Regions from separate parts of the Homo sapiens genome. Here all the other regions are linked to region 3. The links are contacts of gene promoters, found by promoter capture Hi-C in blood cells and fetal thymus (Javierre and others, 2016). All regions are on one chromosome and are shown on one strand. The core of a region is centred on a gene start or on the middle of the fragment in contact, and the rest is flanking DNA. Distances in the headings are between cores, read along the strand shown. Region 1 holds the start of RNVU1-6 (RNA, variant U1 small nuclear 6). Region 2 holds the start of LIX1L (limb and CNS expressed 1 like). Region 3 holds the start of RNF115 (ring finger protein 115). Region 4 has its middle 6.5 kb from the start of TXNIP. Region 5 has its middle 12 kb from the start of TXNIP.

Region 1 (2,736 bases), core at 134-2,633, 230 kb before region 3:
CCCAGGGTGTGGTGTCATGCACCTGTAGTCCCAGCTACTTGGGAGGATTAGTAAGGAGGTTTGCTTGAATTCGTGAGGTCAAGGCAGAAGTAAACCCTGATCATGCCACTGTACTCCAACCTGGGCGACAGTGAGACCTTGTCTCAGAAACAAACAAACAAACAAAAAACCCCACAAAACCAAACAACAACAAATTGTCACCTCATTCTGAAATGACAGTGGCAAACATCACTTTGCTATTTGAAAATTAAAAGAAGCCGGGCGCGGTGGCTCACGCCTGTAATCCCAGCACTTTGGGAGGCCGAGGTGGGCGGATCACAAGGTCAGGAGATCGAGACCATCCTGGCTAACAGAGTGAAACCCCATCTCTACTAAAAATACAAAAAATTAGCCGGACGTGGTGGCAGGTGCCTGTAATCCCAGCTACTGGGGAGGCTGAGGCAGGAGAATGGCGTGAACCCGGGAGGCGGAGCTTGCAGTGAGCCGAGATAGCCCCACTGCACTCCAGCCTGAGCGAAGAGCGCGAGACTCCGTCTCAAAACAAAAAAAAAGAAAATTAAAAGAAAAACACTCCCTCTTGCTATCAACCTGCCCTCTTGCTCTAACTTGTCTGACCCATGGTTTAAAATGCCCAAAAGCTGATGTACTCAAATTATAGTACACTTACCTGTTCTGCACCAGCATTTACTTTTGTCTGGAGGAGATCACCATGCATGGTCCTATACATGTCTAATGGCATGGAATGATGAAGGGTAGTGTCTTTTAGGATAGTTGGATACATATATATATATATATATATATATATATATATATATATGCGGAATGCTACATCACAAGAATAAGAATGTGAAAAGAACCAGTTTCTTTTGTAATCCTAAACGTTCTAGTCTGAGAATTAAAAGCCATTGTTCGAAGAAGGGTGCCCAGGGTCCAGCTGGTCGCCGAAAGCTTGCTCCGCAATACAGGCTAAGGACCAGCTTCTTTGGAAGAGAACAGATGAGGGAAGCAGGAGAGAAAAAAGGGAGAGGCAGACGTCACTTCCCCTTGCCGGCTCCGGCAGCGGGTTGGTCGGCTGAGCGGCAGAAAGGCAGACGGGGACTGGGAAAGGCGCTGTCGGTGACATCACGGATAGGGCGACTTCTATGTAGATGAGCCAGCGCAGGGGCTGCTGCTTCGCCACATGCTGCTTCGCCACGAAGGAGTTCCCGTGCCGTGGGAGCGGGTTCAGGACCGCTGGTCGGACCTGAGAGTCCCAGCTGTGTGTCAGGGCTAGGAGGGCTGGGGGGGAGGGGGGTGTGCGCGGGGCAAGTGACCGTGCGTGTAAAGGGTGAAGCGTGTGAGGCTGCCGGCGGGGCGGAGGTGCAATAACTCATACTTACCTGGCAGGAGAGATACCCTGGTCACGAAGGTGGTTTTTCCAGAGCGAGTCTTATCCATTGCACTCCGGATCTGCTGACCCCTGCAGTTTCCCCAAATGTGGGAAACTTGACTGTATAATTTGTGGCAGTGGTAGACTGCATTCGCGCTTTCCCCTGTATTTTTGTCGTTTTAAAAATAGGTTTTGTTTGCTGCAGAAACGCATACTGGGCGTCAGCGTAAGCTGAGAATCAGGTCTTTGTTCCCATCTGTAACTTCACTGAAACTAAAAATTTGGGACATCGTGGTTCTCACGTTTGTAATCCCAGCAATCTATGAGGTACGTCGATAGGTTATGTTTATGTTAATATCGCTCGACCTCAGGCGTGTGTGGGCAAATATAGTGAACCCGTCTCTACTAATCTCTTATCTTTTTTTGTTGTTGTTCTATAGAAATAAAACTAAGCTTTTCTTTTCCCTATGGGATTAACAGCAAACAGTCCGCTGGAGTGTATGGCGCGATCTCGCCTTACTGCAACCTTTGCCTCCTGCGTTCAAGCTATTCTCCTTCCTCAACCAGAGAATACTCAGCCTCCCGAGTAACTGGCATTACAGGCTCAGGCAACCAAAAAATTAGGTCCGGCTAATTTTTTGAATTTTTAGTAGAGACATGGTTTCACCGGGCCGGGCGCACTGGCTCGCGCCTGTAATCCCAGCACTTTGGGAGGCGGAAGCGGGTGGATCATGAGGTCAGGAGGTCAAGACCATCCTGGCTAACACAGTGAAACCCCATCTCTAATAAAAATACAAAAAAAAAAAATTAGCCGGGTGTGGTGGCACGTGCCTGTAGTCCCAGCTACTCAGGAGGCTGAGGCAAGAGAATCGCTTGAACCCGGGAGGCAGAGGTTGCAGTGAGCTGAGATCGCACCACTGCACTCCAGCCTGGGCGACAGAGTGAGACTCCGTCTCAAAAAAAAAAAAAAAAAAAAAGAGTGACAGGGTTTCACCATGTTGGCCACCCTGGTCTTGAACTCCTGACCTCAAGTTTTCCGCCTGCCTCGCGGCCTCCCAAAATGTTGGGATTACAGGCCTGAGCCACCGCACCTGGCCTGTTTACAGACTTTACAGACACATTTTGTTTACAAGCTTTACAGGTACAGTTCAATTGCGATTAGTGTATATTATGTTTGGCCCAAGACAAGTGTCTTTTTTTTTTTTCCAGTGTGGCCCAAGGAAGCCAAAATTTAGACAACCCTGCTCTAGAGGGTTTGATTCATGGTTCCACTGGGTTATGCTTATTGCCTATAATTCCATTTGATATTTTCCAAATTTGATTTTTTAAAAAGCGTTTTCCTGAAGCACCCTAAAGCTTTCCTAATA
Region 2 (2,700 bases), core at 122-2,621, 130 kb before region 3:
AGGGAGGGTAACACTAACTTATAGCTATAATTATCCAAGGGATACTTAGCTGTTCCAGCCACCTTCTTTCCAAGAAACCAACTTTTCTATAGAGAAAAGGCAAGTGTCCTGTGTCCTGAAGATTTTAAGGCATTTGACAGGATTTCATTTCCTCCAGTTTCCTCTATGTCCAACCTTGAATTCTTTAAGGTTCCTACAAAGAGTTCCTCCCTCCATCATCAGCAGATATATCCCAGTAGATTAACTGTCTCCTTTTGAAACTTCCTATTTCTTGACTACTCACAGTTTTTATTCAGGGTCTAATTTTCATTTCACCAAGTGTGTTTCTTCTATTTTCTTCTACTTCTGGCCTCTATTTCCCCATCTTTGATTTCTGAGCCACTGTAGGAGAGATGGGGGGAAGCAGTTAATATAATCTCACCTAAGCAAAAATGGCCTGGTGACCACATGATAAAGGGTATGTAGAGTGTGTGTGTGTGCATGTGTGCAAGTGTGTGTGTGTGTGCAAAGTAATCAGAGGAACCCAGTCTGACATATTATACCAACAAGGGTAATTTTCTTAATTCCCCCAACTGGACTTCTCAGTTTGCTAATTTTCTGCATGTATCCTAACTCTTTCTCACTCTAATGGGAGGCAAAGAGACTTGCCCATCCCACTCTCTCTTATTCCCTTCCTCTACTTAGAATAAGTGAACTCAGAAATTTACCCAACAATGTGGCATAGTAAAAAGATAAAAATATTGGGAATCAGAACACCTATGCTTAAACTCTGAATTCCACTTTGCCATCTCTTAGCTATTTAATTTTGGCCATTTTTCTAGCTTCCCTCAGCATCTGTTTCCTTATCCCTAAAATAACAAAATCTAGTTAGTGATTGTGATTGTAAATAAGACATGCACTACAGTACATTGCATAGTTTATGTTCATTAAATGTCAGTATCTTTCTTGCCTTAGCTCCACCACCAATTGCATATGATGTTGGACAAGTCGAATTACTTCTCTGAGCCACAATATCCTCACCTGCAATCTGTGAAATGAAATGGTAGGACAAAATGATCTCTACTCTGTCTGCAATCCTCCCCAATCTTGCATCTAGGCCCATTTTTTTCTTCAAGCCCAGCCCCAAGATTCTGTCCTGCTTTCTAGTGCTTGCCACAGGACTCCCAAAGACGCGCCGAAGCTCTGCGTCTGCCTTTCAGAGGATACGCTTTTTCTCTTTGCAATTGGTTCTGAGAATCCCCACCCTCCTCAATAATTTGCCTATGGCGGAGCAGGAGCCCTCCAGCTCCCGCCCCATCACTGGTGATTGGCATGGGACCTAGCTCGTCCCCGCCCCCACTTGACTGAAGGTTCGGCCCTGGCACCGCCCTGAGTCCCCAGGCGCTAGCTGACTGGGGTGGTTGGGACCGTTAGCTCGGCAGGCTGGCAGGCTCCGGGGCGCTACTCCATTGGCGGCCGGGATGGAGACTATGCGAGCGCAGCGGCTGCAGCCTGGTGTGGGCACCAGCGGGAGGGGCACTCTCCGAGCGCTGCGGCCCGGAGTGACTGGGGCCGCGGCCGCCACCGCCACACCCCCTGCGGGCCCCCCGCCTGCCCCGCCGCCTCCCGCACCGCCCCCGCCGCCGCTGCTCCTGTCTGGGGCCCCAGGACTACCCCTGCCCCCCGGCGCCGCCGGCAGCCCGGCAGTGCTGCGAGAGGCCGTGGAGGCCGTGGTGAGGAGCTTCGCCAAGCACACGCAGGGCTATGGCCGAGGTGAGTCTGCGGGTCTGGCCTCCTGCGCGACACCCTCTGTAAGGGAGCCTTGCTCCCACAGTCCTCCGGATCGCTTTTCCTGGCGTGGAGCCCTCACATGCATTTCCTTTTGGGGAGTTTCCTTCTGGGCTACGCACACGCACAGACGCACACACTCATACACACGTTTAAGCCTCCTACCTCCTCCCCTTTACTGAGTTATTAATATATTCTCCAGGGACTCTTTTTCAGATACAATCCTCTTTTCTTCCTAAGCTTTTCTCCTTTAGAAATGGAATTCCTCCTCCAGCTTAATACCTTAACATCTCTCTGCCTTTGAGAACCAGTCCTCATTGTGTGGGATCCTGTCTTTTATTTCAGATCCAATTTCTCATCCATACCCTCTCAGTCTTTCCTCTGTGATCTCTGCAATTCCTGGACTCACCTGTTAATTTGCTCCAGCCCCTTAACCTTGACTGTTAAATTCTTTACTTACTTACCTTCACTCTGAAATTTCAGTGCAACTTCAGATTTACTGGGGAACTAGGTAGTGCCTTCACAAGTCACTCATAGTAATTGTGTATTTAAATCCGGACCTGTACCACTGAACTCACAGCAGCTTCCTGTGGCTCAGTACCTTACTTTGGTATCTTTTTTAGTATGGAGACTCACAACTCCAGCCTTTCTGTCTGGCTGTGTTTTCCTGGCCCTTGCCCAGGAACTGAGGATAAATCCCAGGCCTTGGCTCTTTCAATGTTAAATTCTGTGGAAATGTGCCAGGTTAGAAACTCTATTTCAGTTAGAAAACTTCGTTAATTTCTGGAAAGAGGGATGTGAGGGTTTTCTTTGTTGTTTTCGTTTAACTAGGGTAGTTTCCTGTCTGAGTTTGAGTTCCAGATTTATAGTGTAAGTAATAAGGAATATATAGTGAAGGGTGTGGAATACAGAATTTAAGCCTGGAATTTACAA
Region 3 (2,700 bases), core at 4-2,503:
TGAGGTCAGGAGTTTGAGACCAGCCTGGCCAATATAGTGAAACCCCTTCTCTACTAAAAACACACAAAAAAATTAGCTGGGCGTGGTGGCGGGTGCCTGTAATCCCAGCTACTAGGGAGGCTGAGACAGGAGAATCGCTTGAAGCCGGGAGGCAGAGGTTGCAGTGAGCCGAGATCGCGCCACTGCACTCCAACCCGGGCGACAGTGCGAGATTCTGTCTCCAAAACAAAAAAAAACAAAAAAAATTACTCATAATATATTAAGTGACAGAAGCAAGCTGAAAAAATATAAAAATTCAATTATTGTAAAAAAAAAGGAAAAATGTATGCATAGGAAAAGACTATGCATCAAATTTATCTCTATGGGATTATGCGTGATTCTGATTTTCCTTAAAGATTGGGAGATGATTTTGCGGTCTGTCACAGACCTTAGTTTCTACACTTCACTGCTTGGAAGAATTAAGGTCACTGTTCACAGCTCGGTGGGAGTGAACAGGCAGTGTTATTCTCAGTCCATAAAGGAAATGATAATTTCGAAAAAGAAATTTAGGAGGTAAAGGACTGCTTCTCAACAGGGTGTGTCAAACAGGAGATGAGGTTACGTTGTTTGCAGGACAGTATTCAATTCTTAAACTTCTACTCCTTGACAAAGTTGACACAATCAGAAACGGACGTAGTTAATTTTATGATTACTTCCTTATTACAAATTGCTACCAAACATTGTTTACTTATTTCTTCCAATTCCTAAGAAGCCAAGTCTTTGCCTCCCCGTCCCCACCCCGCCTCAGTATCACCAGAGACCTATTTCGTCCATCCACATATCTTTGGAGAAGCATTCCCAGATCCTTTGCCATCCTCGGAAAGGGCTTCCAAGGCGCTTGGCTCCTAGCTCTACACTTCCTTTACACAGGTTCCCGTTTCGGACGTGGTCTCTTGGTCCAGTCAGTGCCGCCACGTTCAGACAGCATTTTCCACTAACCTCAGGGTCAGCGCAATCCGGGGGCTCCAACTCCAATTCGGCTGAGCTTCCCGCGACGGCTTCCTACGGCTCCCGCTGGCCTTCTAGGCCGAGGTGGAGCCCACCGCCCTTTCTAGGACGCGGATCGCCACCGAAGAAGACGCGGAAAAGCAAAAAGCGCGTGCCACTCTACCCCAGAGTTTCGGCGGCTTCCGGGGACGCTCTTTCTTTCTTCTCGCTGGAAGACTGGAGGACCAGCGAGGGGCTGTTTGTGGAGCCGGCGGGCGGGCCGTTTGTCTCTCCTTCCTGCGCCTCTTTGGTGCTGGGAGGCGGGCCGCAGGGTAGCTGTTGGCGCCGCCGCGTTTCTGGGCCTGGCCAACTCACGTGACCGACGCGGGCTCTGAAGCGGTGGGCCGCACCGAGGCGGCGGCGGCGGCGACGACTGCAGCTCGGGAGGTAGCGGCCTGGCGAGGGACGGGCCGGCTGCCCTCTCGGACGGCCGCGGCGGAGGGCAAAAATGGCGGAGGCTTCGGCGGCCGGGGCGGACTCGGGCGCCGCTGTAGCCGCCCACCGGTTTTTCTGCCACTTTTGCAAGGGCGAGGTCAGCCCCAAACTACCGGTAAGAGCGCTGTGTTCTCTATACTTGGGAACCTCATAGATTCCTGGCCCCGATTTCCCGGAACTGGGTCTGGAGCTTTCTGCACATCATTGACTCGCCCGACATCGGTCTGCCGAATACCTGCTGCCCACTTCTAAGCCGCCGGCCCTAAACCCTGGGCATCACGGCCTCGGCCCCGTACCTCCTGCCCACCTCTTAATTCATCCTGGGCTGCTCCACCTGACCTCACCTCTTTACCTCCCGTGTCCTTAATTTTTTTTTTTCTTAGCAAGTTTCCCTCTGATAACTCTCCCCTCAATTTTCTTGCATTCTTTTATACCTGGTCTTTTTCCTACGATGACCTCCCCCCACACTTCTTCCACTGTGTCTTCTCACCTTCCTCTGTGTTCTTTTCCACTTTTCACCCCCCACCGCCCCCGCCACCTCCCTTGTCAGTGAAGCGAAATAGCGGATTGCTGAGGATTGTCACTCTTCGGTTTTTTCTAGGGAAGGAAGCACAGAAAGGGGGTTGGAAGGTATCTGTGGGGCGAAAAGGGGGATTTTGCTCTTCAGTGGTTTCCAGGGTCCTTGTGACAGTGAAGACAGCAGCGTACTAATGACTTGCAGACGGTCTGCACTCCTATCACTGTTGAAGGAAATGGCTTTAGGAAGAAGGCAGGACGTACTGTTTCAACTTCGTTTATTTTGGTTGTCATGCTGCCAGTGTCTTTAATATCATTGTTCCGCCCCCCGCCCTGTCCCTTTCTTCACCTAAGAAAAAGAGCCGGGACAGAATGTTGGGGATGCTTCCTCTGACGTGAAATTGGTTTTCACGAGTTTCTGCCAGAGTGTTAGCCCCTTGAGAGGCAGTGCTGTGGTTGGGAAGAAAACACTTTTGTAGGTCAGGCGCGGTGGCTTAGGTCTGTAATCCCAGTGCTTTGGGAGGACGAGGCAGGAGGATTGCTTGAGGCCAGGAGTTTGAGACCAGCCTGGGCAACAGAGTGAGACCCCTCTCTACAAAAACAAACAACATTTATGCAGCATACTAGCCAGCACCAGCATCACAAACCCAGAAACTGTTTTGGGTTGGGTTGTAGCTACTACGAGGAGCTCCCCCAGAGTGAATGTCAATCCTGTCCTTGGCC
Region 4 (2,736 bases), core at 159-2,658, 170 kb before region 3:
TTTTTTTTGAGATAGAGTCTTGCTCTGTCTCCCAGGCTAGAGTGCAGTGGCCCAATCTTGGCTTAATACAATGTCCGCCTCCCAGGTTCAAGCGATTCTGCTACCTCAGACTCTTGAGTAGTTGGGATTACAGGCATGAGCCACCACACTCAGCTAATTTTTGTATTTTTAGTAGAGACGGGGTTTCACCATGTTGGCCAGGCTGGTCTCGAACTCCTGACTTCCCGTGATTCACCCGCCTCAGCCTCCTAAAGTGCTGGGATTACAGGTGTGAGCCATGGCGCCCAGCAGTGATTTTCATTCCTAAAGAACCGACAGGTGGAGAAACCCTGGGATGGCCAATTTAAATATTTGCACAGATCTGGTCCTGGTCCTTATTTGGGAATTGATTTTTCTGAGGACTTCCACAAACTAATTCCAAATAACAGGCTCCTGGAAATTCTACATGAAATCAGTGTGGGGTGTTGTAGCTCTAGCTACTCACAAGGCTGAGGCAAGAGGATCATTCAAGCCCAGAAGTTCTAGGTTACAGTGAGCTATGATTGCACCACTTGCACTCCAGCCTGGGGGACAGATTTTGTCTCAAAAATAAATAAATAATAAGCAAACTAAAATCAATGTGAATTTAACAGAAAGTGAGATTTAAAAGATCCTTTTCCATTTCAATCCTCATTTTTCGTTTATCTTTCATTTTCCATAGCACTCTCCTCCCTCTCTTTGTCTCTCTTTCATTACCAAAGTGTCAGTCTCTATTTCTCCCTATTGCCAGGGTGACTTTCACCTGAACTCTCCGCCCCTTTCTCACCTGTGCAAGAATTTAGTGGCTCCTCTCCTTCAAATCTGTGACCAGGAAATTAGGTCAAAGTTGATGGAAAAGTTTTTTCTGTAGCTTGTTTTCCAGGGCCTAGAGGGGTGAAGCAATGATAAGAGCAGGCCAGAGAGCAGGACAAAGGAATGGAGAGACCATGGAGTACATGAGCCTGGTTGTGTGCACAGTTGGGCTACCAGTACCCAATATGAGAAGAGGGATGGCTTCGAAAGGATAGATAACTTTATACCCAAGGCCTCTTAGAGATCTGATCCTAGGGCCAGGCGCGGTGGCTTACGCCTGTAATTGCAGCTACTCGGGAGGCTGAGGAAGGAGAATCACTTGAACCCAGGAGGTGGAGGTTGCAGTGAGCCCAGACTGCACCACTGCACTCCAGCCTGGGCGACAGAGCAAGACTGTCTCCAAAAAAAAAAAGAGATCTGATCCTGGAAGGGCCAGAACATGGGCATCTCCTCCGGATACCCTTAATATCCTTTATCCAGCTGTCCAAATAGAACTTTCTATGATGATGGAAATTTTCAATACAGTAGCCACTAGCCCTGAAATGTGGCTACTATGACTGATAAACTGATTTTTTTTCTTATCTTTTTTTTTTTTTTTTTAGATAGGGTCTCATTCTGTCTCCCAGGCTGGAGTGCAGTGGCACAATCTTGGCTCACTGCAGTTTTGACCTCCCAAGCTCAGGTGATTCTCCCACCTCAGCCTCCCAAGTAGCTAGAACTACAGGCACATGCCACCATGCCCAGCTAATTTTTTCTATTTTTTGTAGAGACAGGGTTTCACCATGTTGCCCAGGCTGGTCTTGAACTCCTAGGCTCAAGCAATCTGCCCACTTCAGCCTCCCAAAGTGCTGTGCACACATTTTTTTTTTTTTTTTAAACAGGGTCTTGCTCTGTCTCCCAGGCTGGAGTGCAGTGGCATGATCTCTGCTCACTGCAGCCTCCACCTCTCAGGGTCAAGTGATTTCCCATCTCAGCCCCCTAGTAGCTGGAACTACAGGTGCATGGCACCAAGCCCGACTAATTTTTGTATTTTTCATAGAGATGAAGTTTTGCCATGTTGCCCAGGCTGGTCTCAAAACTCCTGGGCTCAAGCGATCCTCCCACCTCAGCCTCCCAAAGTGCTAGGATTACAGGTGTGAGCCACTGTGCCCAGCCTGTAACTGAATTTTTAATTTTGTTTAATTATTTATTTATTATTATTATTATTTTTTGAGATGGAGTTTCTCTCTTGTTGCCCAGGCTGGAGTGCAATGGCGTGATCTCGGCTCACTGCAACCTCCACCTCCTGGGTTCAGCGATTCTCCTGCCTCAGCCTCCCAAGTAGCTGGGATTACAGGCATGCGTTACCACACCTGGCTAATTTTGTATTTTTAGTAGAGATGGGGTTTCTCCATGTTGGTCAGGCTGGTCTTGAACTCCCGACCTCAGGTGATCTGCCCATCTCAGCCTCCCAAAGTGCTGGGATTACTGTGCCCGGCCCAATTTTGTTCAATTCAATTAAACTTTAGCTTTCTGTGACTAGTGACTGTCACATATGTGACTAGTGACTAGTGACTAGTGACTGCCATATTGAATACCACATCAAAATCTAAGGGAGTAAGCAGCTAGAGCTGTTCCCCCAGAGGAAACCTATCCTTCTCTTACAGCACAAAAACTCCACTCTACTTCTTTTTGCCTTGTGTATACAACTTCTACCTCACCCGAGGACATTTTCCGCGTACAGGCTTGCTTCAGTACACTTCCTTGGGGAGTGGCTTAGCTATTTCCCCACTTAAGTGGGGGAATATTCTGGGTCTTCTTTGCCTATCCTCTTCTCACGTGCCTTTTAATTTTTAAGTAGCTATGACCTACATGTACAATGATTAGAGGAGATGTGGTTCTGAGTATCATTTATTCAGTAGGTTT
Region 5 (2,700 bases), core at 198-2,697, 180 kb before region 3:
AACATTTTTAATATTAAGCGTTTCACATAGTCAGTCTTTGATACAACACTTCTACCTTTGAGAAACTAAGTCATATTTTCAAAAAAGTAGGCTGGCTGGGAGCGGTGTCTCATGCCTGTAATCCCAGCACTTTGGGAGGCCAAGGTAGGAGGACTGCTTGAGCCCGGGAGTTTGATACCAGCCTGGGCAACATGGTGAGACCCCCGTCTCTACAAAAAAAATAAAAATTAGCTGGCTGTTGTGGCATGTGCCTATAGTTCCAGCTACCTGGGAGGCCGAGGTGGGAGGATCAGTTGAGCCCAGGAGGTTGGGGCTGCAGTGAGCTATGATCGCACTACTGCACTCCAACCTGGGTGACAGAGCAAGACCCTGTCTCAATAAAAGAATTAAAAATAAATTAAAGGCCAGGCGCAGTGGCCCATACGTGTAATCCCAGCACTTTGGGAGGCTGAGGTGGGCGAATTGCTTCAGCTCAAGAGTTCAAGACCAGCCTGGGCAATATGGCAAAACCCCTTCTCTACGAAAAATACAAAAAATTAGCCGGGAGTGGTGGTGTGTGCCTGTGGTCCCAGCTACTCGGGAGGCTAAGTTGGAAGGATTGCTTGAGCCCAGGAGGTCAGGAGGTCGAGGCTGCAGTGAGCTGAGATTGCACCACTGCACTCCAGCCTGGGTAACAGAGTGAAATACTGTCTCAAAAAATAAATAGGTAAAAATTTAAAAATTAATTAATTAAAAATGAAAAATAAATGTAGAAATCAGAGAAAGCTTTACAAAGGAGATGACTTTTTTTTTTTTTTTTTTTTTGAGACAGAGTCTTGCTCTATCACCCAGGCTGGAGTGCAGTAGCACAATCTTGGCTCACTGCAACCTCTGCCTTCCGGGTTCAAGTGATTCTCCTGCCTCAGCCTCCCGAGTAGCTGGGATTACAGGCACCCACAATCATGCCCGGCTAATTTTTGTATTTTCAGTTGAGACGAGGTTTCACCATGTTGGCCAGGTTGGTCTTGAACTCCTGACCTCAGGTGATCTGCCCGCCTCAGCCTCCCAAAGTGCTGGAATTACAGGTGTGAGCCACCACACTTGGACAATCTTGGACTTAAAAAAAATCTTTTTTTTAAGGCTCAGGGACTCACTAGGAATTTTGTCCTAGCTGTGTGATCATAGGCAAGTCATTTGAGTTCTCTGAATCACAATATTCTCTTCTGCAAAATGTCTTCCTGCTTACCTGGTGAGAATCAAATGTTTGTGCAACTGCGTTATAATGCATATATATAGATATATAGATGACAAAATATAATTAACAAAGAAAGTACTGGCCGGGCATGGTGGCTCACACCTGTAATCCCAGCACTTTGGGAGGCCAAGGTGGGCAGATCACCCGAGGTCAGGAGTTCAAGACCAGCCTGACCAACATGGAGAAACCCTGTCTCTACTAAAAATACAAAATAAGCCAGGCGTGGCGGCGCATGCCTGTAATCCCAGCTACTTGGGAGGCTGAGGCAGGAGAATCGCTTGAACCTGGGAGGTGGAGGTTGCGGTGAGCCGAGATCGCCCCATTGCACTCCAGCCTGGACGACAAGAGCAAAACTCCATCTCAAAAAAAAGAAAGTACTGATCTGGCACAGTGGCTCATGCCTGTCATCCCAACACTTTGGAAGGTCGAGGTAGGAGGATCACTAGAGCCCAAGAGTTAGAGACCAGACTGGGCAACATAGCAAGACCCCCATATCTACAAAAAACTTAAAATTAACTAGGCATGGTGGTAGTCCCAGTTCCTCAGGAGGCTGAGGCCGAGGGTTGCTTGAGCCCAAGAGTCAGAGACTGCAGTGAACTGATCGCACGACAGCACTCCAGCCTGGGCAAGAGAGAGGCCCATCTCTTAAAAAAATTAATTCATTTTTTCAAAAGGCATTGATGGATCTAGAAAAATAAATAAATGTTTTAAAATTTTTTCTTAGAAAAGAAAGTATTATTAATTGTCAGTCTGGATAAAAAAATAGAAACTTGTTTTAATGTAGAATTTCTTTCCCTCAGTCATGAACACCACATTTCCTTCATTTGTTCCTTCTCATAATCAAAAATCATCTTTGCCACTCAGGGGAGTGATCTGGGCTGTTTTGGCTCTCAGAAAAGCTTTTATTTGTTTGAGACAATTCTTGGACTAAGAATTTTGACAGTATATTAAACTGCCCACTAGGTGGCAGAGCTGAGTCAACTGTATTTCTGAATTGTGTAAGAAATAATTTCTCAGAAAAGGGGAAGTTGGGTTGAGCACACAATGTCCCATCTCCCTCATACTTATAAACACCAACGCAGTCCAATTTTCTTCTCACAGAAAAACAAACCACCACCTCTCGCCTCCTTACCGTCCCTGCTCTGATACATATTTGGGCCACAGGCTTTGAGGAGGGACAAATATGATACAGTTTAGCATAAGAAACTGAGGTTGAGGTGTCAAGTCTAATAGTAATAAGAAATAATACTAGGATCTGAATTACTGGTATATTCTATCCAGAGACATAACCCAATCTATCAATTCAATCAATCTATCTCTATATGTATGTGTGTGTCTGTGTGTGTGTGTGTGTGTGTGTGTGTGTATATATATATATATATATATATTTTTTTTTTTTTTTTTTTTTTGACATGGCAATTCAAGCCATCCTCCCACCTCAGCCTTCCGAGGAGCTGGGACTACAG

What was found. The method cuts DNA at HindIII sites, captures the fragments that hold promoters and counts their contacts. A CHiCAGO score of 5 or more calls a contact.
Region 1: a contact is called between a fragment that was not itself captured here and the fragment with the promoter of RNF115 in region 3, in 2 of 17 cell types (activated CD4 T cells and naive CD4 T cells). The highest score is 6.8, in activated CD4 T cells.
Region 2: the fragment with the promoter of LIX1L here is called in contact with the fragment with the promoter of RNF115 in region 3 in 11 of 17 cell types (fetal thymus, erythroblasts, total CD4 T cells and 8 more); the score reaches 9.0 in fetal thymus.
Region 4: a contact is called between a fragment that was not itself captured here and the fragment with the promoter of RNF115 in region 3, in 1 of 17 cell types (erythroblasts). The highest score is 6.2, in erythroblasts.
Region 5: a fragment that was not itself captured here is called in contact with the fragment with the promoter of RNF115 in region 3 in 9 of 17 cell types (erythroblasts, activated CD4 T cells, naive CD8 T cells and 6 more); the score reaches 9.3 in erythroblasts.

What each region holds. Positions count from the first base shown.
Region 1 is chr1:146,050,880-146,053,615 of GRCh38, reverse strand. It overlaps RNVU1-6 (RNA, variant U1 small nuclear 6), which reads left to right and starts at 1,372; the gene lies at 1,372-1,535. LINC01719 (long intergenic non-protein coding RNA 1719) reads right to left here and starts at 1,020. Exons shown (of 3, transcript NR_125968.1): 1 at 668-1,020. RefSeq lists enhancers at 702-1,433, 1,434-2,162 and a silencer at 1,283-1,522. The HindIII fragment of the contact is 874 bases long and covers 947-1,820 here.
Region 2 is chr1:145,956,688-145,959,387 of GRCh38, reverse strand. It overlaps LIX1L (limb and CNS expressed 1 like), which reads left to right and starts at 1,371. Exons shown (of 6, transcript NM_153713.3): 1 at 1,371-1,752. The coding sequence starts at 1,461. RefSeq lists silencers at 1,317-1,406, 1,437-1,716. The HindIII fragment of the contact is 5,249 bases long and covers 1-2,005 here.
Region 3 is chr1:145,822,648-145,825,347 of GRCh38, reverse strand. It overlaps RNF115 (ring finger protein 115), which reads left to right and starts at 1,253. Exons shown (of 9, transcript NM_014455.4): 1 at 1,253-1,576. The coding sequence starts at 1,475. POLR3C (RNA polymerase III subunit C) reads right to left here and starts at 1,148. Exons shown (of 15, transcript NM_006468.8): 1 at 979-1,148. RefSeq lists an enhancer at 888-1,287. The HindIII fragment of the contact is 15,759 bases long and covers 1-2,700 here.
Region 4 is chr1:145,988,701-145,991,436 of GRCh38, reverse strand. No RefSeq gene overlaps it. Among named protein-coding and RNA genes, the nearest start is that of TXNIP, 6.5 kb to the left of the region's middle. The HindIII fragment of the contact is 6,969 bases long and covers 1-2,736 here.
Region 5 is chr1:146,006,944-146,009,643 of GRCh38, reverse strand. No RefSeq gene overlaps it. Among named protein-coding and RNA genes, the nearest start is that of TXNIP, 12 kb to the right of the region's middle. The HindIII fragment of the contact is 1,368 bases long and covers 764-2,131 here.